Linked DNA regions of Homo sapiens: region 2 is linked to region 1. Evidence: promoter capture Hi-C in human tissues and cell types (Jung and others, 2019). All regions are on one chromosome and are shown on one strand. Each heading gives the region's core, a stretch centred on a gene start or on the middle of the fragment in contact. The rest is flanking DNA. Distances are from core to core; before and after follow the strand shown. Region 1 holds the start of KCNB2 (potassium voltage-gated channel subfamily B member 2). Region 2 has its middle 210 kb from the start of KCNB2.

What was found. The method cuts DNA at HindIII sites, captures the fragments that hold promoters and counts their contacts. A contact is called where the count stands out against the background at its distance.
Region 2: a contact is called between a fragment that was not itself captured here and the fragment with the promoter of KCNB2 in region 1, in 2 of the 25 tissues and cell types used here (H1 embryonic stem cells and thymus).

The regions. Positions count from the first base shown.
Region 1 is chr8:72,535,883-72,538,571 of GRCh38, reverse strand. KCNB2 (potassium voltage-gated channel subfamily B member 2) reads right to left here and starts at 1,347. Exons shown (of 3, transcript NM_004770.3): 1 at 687-1,347. RefSeq lists silencers at 1,288-1,337, 1,498-1,557, 1,568-1,617, 1,628-1,757. The HindIII fragment of the contact is 6,044 bases long and covers 1-2,689 here.
Region 2 is chr8:72,328,271-72,330,959 of GRCh38, reverse strand. No RefSeq gene overlaps it. Among named protein-coding and RNA genes, the nearest start is that of KCNB2, 210 kb to the left of the region's middle. The HindIII fragment of the contact is 5,726 bases long and covers 1-2,689 here.

The DNA.
Region 1 (2,689 bases), core at 98-2,597:
ATGTTTGTGCATATTGCACACTGACAGTTTTTATGAATGAATACGCATAAATGCTCACAACTCGAGAAAATGGATGGCGGCATACTATTTTGAAGAGGATCATTAAGCATCGGGAGCAAATGATGAGGCAAATGGTCGATGTCTTTTGGTGCTATTCAGGGCAAACGTATTCCCAAGTCCCCTAGCAGAGTGTGTTGGAAACAGCCATGAAGCTCTTTCCTTAGAGACCCGTTCTCCCTCTCAGGAATCGTGCTACAGAACGGAGACCGCGCACCGCTTGAAGAATAAAATGCACGCATGTCTCTGTGTTCTGAGGATCGTTCATACATCAGAGACATCACACTCCCTAAATCCAGTCCCACAAGTGTGTGCATGTGAGTGTGGCATTTACCAACAAATGGACGGAAGGCAACAAGAGCTCGGCTCCTAGAAATAACATCCCCATCCCTTCCCAGTCAGGCTGCTGGGAAGCTTTTCAGGGGCTAATACTTGAGCGCCTTCCCCACCGGGAAGGAGCCTGACATTAAAAACCCTCTCAGGGCTAAGTCAGCTTTGTGTGTAAGTCCACTGGGCGCCATATGGCAGTTTCCAATTCCTTTAGCAACTCAAGTCTGGCTAGGCTGCCGCGATGATTCATTCTTAAAGGAAGACCCCCTTCGGGGAGCAGCAATGCCCCCGCCACTTACCTAGCTCCCACAGACCCCGCTCAGCAGGCGGCACGGGCTCGGGCACCACAAAGGGCTGTGGGATTCCCCGCTCCCTCCGGGGAGCCTCTCCCCGCGACGATCCCCTTCGCCAATGACCTGTCGCTGGAAATCCCCCTCCCCTCCACAGAGAGGAGGGTCTCCCCGGCTGGCTGGAGCTCCCGGCGTGCTTTCCCCCTGTCTTTACATCCCTGACTCTGGTTCACGGTCTCTAGTAGGAAGGCTCAGAGGAAAGGCGGCGGGAGGAAGCTAAGGCATCCTTTAAAAGAACAATAATCTTCATCGATCTTCAACCCCTTCCCCACACGGGGTCCCCATCCCCCTGCCGCCGCCACAGCCACCCAGACAAGAGAGGGCTGGAACAGAAGAGGAAAAATCGAGCGGGGCTGAGCTCGCCGCGCGGAAGGAGCCAGAAAGCGAGCCGCGCCAGCCCGGGAGTTGCCGCTCGCTGGGGCTGCCCGAGGCGCAGCGGCGGCGGCGGCCGCGGGGGCGGAGGGCGGAGGGCGGAGGGCGGTGGGTGCTTGGTGGGTGTGTGTCTGTGGCGGAGCAGGGTAGAGGCTGCGCGCGGGAGGCTAGGCGGGGCGCTCTGGGGCGCCGCTCCCCCGCCCCGCAGCTAGCCGGCCCGGCGCGCACACAGGGCTGCGGCCACCCCAGCCTCCCGCTCCGCCTCCTCCCGCGCTCCGCGCACCCGCGGGCTGGAGCGGCCGCCGCCTTCTCTTCCTCCTCCCCCTCCCCCTCTTCCTCCTCAGCGCTCCCGGCTGTCAAGGTGGGCGGCGGGGCGGGATGGCTGGGCTGCGCGAGCCGGCAGCGCACCGCCGGGGACGCCGGGGCTCTGCCTCGCGGCGCCGGAGCTGTGCGCTCGGCCGGGGACAGCGCTCTGGTGCCCAGGGCGCGGCTGGGGCGCGGGCAGGCACCGCCCACACCTCGGCGGGGTGCCTCCCTCAGCTTCCGCGCGCCAGCCACTCCTGCTGCCCCGGGCCTGGCTCCACACCCACCTGCTTCGCTCTGCAGCTCCCACCCGGCTGCACTGGACTAGAGGGACGCAGCCCCCGCGGCTGCCGCGCACCCGGGGCCGGGAAAGCCCCGGGAGGCCCCGCCGCGACGCGCTCCGGCGGCTTCGCGGGATTCCCTCGGCCCTTCTGCTTCCAACTGCAGGGCTGTCCTCCCGCCCGCCCACAGCAGGACCCTGACCCTGGGCTGACTGCTCGACCCCGGGGAACTGGGGCGAAGACAGATGGCTCCTGAGTGGTGGTGCCAGGATTATTTTCCTGGAGAAAGAGCTGCGGAGATAACTAGGAGCGCAGATAAGATCTGACTTTCCTCGCGGCACCTGCAGCCCCGCTCGCTCGGGGGCCGTCCCTAGCCCCAAGTGACCCGGCTTTCCTGGGTTTGAGGGTAAAGCCGGGTCCGTGGCAACCTTAACCCTTGCTTCTCACGGGGGCGCTCTTCATACCCTTCTTTCTTTCCTTTGCCTATCAACTTACCAGCTGGAAAACTATGCCAAGTTACCCCTTGGCGAGGCCGCAGGGTGAACACTTAGACCTGTACCCACTTCCAGGGCTCGGTAAAGACAATGAACTTGAATAATAACACTGAGCCTTACATATTTCTGACCCCAGTGCTCCTTCACAGGCACGAAATAGAGACAGCTGGCACGGTTACAGGGGCTTTCAGGAAAACAAAGTAGCTTAAAACACCTTTTAGAAACGAACGCAGGCCGTGACAAGTCTATTTAAAGCTGGGACTCCTGAGTTTCTATAGACCAAGAAGGATGGCTGTTGAGGAAGTTCCAAGTACACTGTTTTATTTATATTTATTTATTTATTTATTTATTTATTTTTTCCTTGTATCTTCTGTTTATTGAGTGTTTTTTTAAATTTTATTATTATTATACTTTTAAGTTTTAGGGTACATGTGGGTTTGTTACATATGTATACATGTGCCATGTTGGTGTGCTGCACCCATTAACTCGTCATTTAGCATTA
Region 2 (2,689 bases), core at 59-2,558, 210 kb after region 1:
CCCATGTGTGTTAAATTCGTGACCCACATGTACTGTGAAATAATGAATGTGTGCTGTGTTAAGCTGTTAGGTTTTGAGGGTAAGGGGGATCTTGTTATGAAGCAACAAATAATGAATACAGATGGAAATTCCCTCGATTCCTTTTCACTAAACTTACAACTGATCACTGTGAAAATGCAGTCTGCTACAGCCTGGCTTGCTCCTTCACCACCAAAGGTACCAATGAACTTCACACCAAATCCAATGGGCATTTGATATCTAATAAACGTTTGTAATTGCTGCCCATTCTTTCTTTGGCTTCCACCACACTCCAATTTCCTTGTTTTCTTCTTACTCACATCACTGTTAAGAAGACTCATGACCACCATCCTCCTGTGGGTTTTGGTCATCATGGGAAACATACTTTGTCCTTGCTTTTGGTAGGAAAGCAGCTTCCTCTGACTGTGTAGTAAGCTCTCCTTGCTCTGCCTTCAGAGTGGTTGGCAAGCCCTTCCCCATTAGACATTTTCAGGTAGGCATCAAATACCGGTCGCTACCTCCTCCAAATACTTACGGGCATATGCCAAGCTCTGTGAGTGGTGCTCTTGCAGCTTCCCTCTCTTGCAGTACACCCATCTCCACTCACCCATAGCAAAGGAAAGGAACACACACTCAGTGACAACCTTCAGCAAAGTAATCTACTGGTGCCTTTAACTTTCTTCTTTTTGGTGATATGGAGGAGAACGATCTATTAATGCTGGCAAAAACAGAATCACAGTCTCTTAGCATATCCTGCATGGCCAGACCGATTTCTCTGATTTTTCTTTTTCAGCCCCTGTGGCCTCTGCTAAAATTAAGCAACAGTGAAAAGCATCACTTAACATTCCTATTACAACTAATATTTAAAGGATGCATTCTTATTCTACAAGGATAAAGTAGATAATACAATTCATTCAAATTTTAGCTTTGGATAAGTTTATTAGCATTGTATCAGAGAACTCCAGCATGTAGTAGGTCTTGCAAATGTAACAGGAACATTGCATCAAATATACTTTTTAGTTCTGCACCCAAGAATCTGGAGCATACTATACCATGTAAAATATTTCTTTGTTTGCAACATACTAATGTCATGGCACTATGCACACAACCAGATAGTATGCCACCATCATCACTATTTAAACAAATTTGGAAGAAATTCACTACATATGAATATTGTGGCTGATTCCCTGACATTCATTCTACCCAGGTGACTGACCTGAGGCCATCATTGCAGATCCATCCCTCTTGCCAGTGAGGGGTTCAAGCATGGGCATATGACCAATGAGACATGAGAGGAAGTCTGCAGGGACCTTCAGGAAACATTTCCTTGGCTCAAAGAGAGACCTCAAGGAAAGGATGGTCTCTTCCCTTCTAGATACTGTGTCAGAATGAGAAAACTAGAACTGCTGCAGCTGTATTTCTACCAGCCTGAGAATGGAGCCTAAACTAAGAATGGATGAGAAGAGGTGAAATGATCCTGAATCCTTGATGACATCACCAAGTCAACCGAACTTGAAGGCTGCCTTGTCTCTGGACCTCTTGCTATGTGGAATAATGGATAGTTTAAGCCTGTTGGAATCCAGATTTTTATGATGTGCAGCAAAACCTATTCTCCTGATAACATACTAGGAGCACCAATAAAATTTAGATCTAAAAAGGGACTGATTATAGTTAAGCTTATGCAGACATACCTAGGAAGAAAATCAGAAGATTTAAGAAAAACTTAGAATAAACAGCAAGGCCTACTTTTACACTGGTTCTTGTGAAGGACTAATTTGGCACCAAAATCAAGATGTCACAGGAAGGGGAACATCACACACCGGGGCCTGTCGTGGGGTGGGGGGAGGGGGGAGGGATAGCATTAGGAGATATACCTAATGTAAATGACGAGTTAATGGGTGCAGCACACCAACATGGCACATGTATATATATGTAACAAACCTGCACGTTGTGCATATACCCTAGAACATAGAGTATAATTTAAAAAAAGCAGAATTAAAGTAAATAAATTGCACAGTCAAAAAAAAAATCAAGACAGAGAAGAAGCAGGCCAGAAACAAATAGTTGACAAATATAAACGGAGTCAAAAGTTGGAGGTGAAGTTTATGTTCGAGGTGAAGCTTACGTTCTTGCATCCCTAAAGCTATGACTTTGAGCCACTGCAAATTCCAAGTGAGGCAGAGATGTCAAAGCCTCTAGGCCAATACTGAGAAGTTTTTGAACCAAGAGAGGCCTGGAATGTTCTGCTGTCTTATATGAAGAACATAGGCGATTGTTCAACTTCTTGATTGGCAAGTAACTTACAAGATAAGAGAGGGTAACATGCAACATCCACCTGCTGGGTCCTGAAGGGAACAGGCACAGGCTGTAATCCCCTGGTCTACGGTAAGAGTGGGAAACCAGGAAGTCCTAAACATACACTGAGAACTACAGGACATTCCTTAAGATCATCATTAAGTCATTTTATATGACTGGTTTTATTTCAATAAATTCAATGAATGTTAAAGCAGATATGGTGTTTGTGCTAGAATTTATAATCTAAATACTAATTCATTTTTTATTGTTGCTATTGAAGTGTGGGTCTCACCTATGACAAAACATATCTACGGATACGATTAAACCACATTTTCAATTGTATGATCGTTGATGTGATGTTGGGTGTACATGGTCT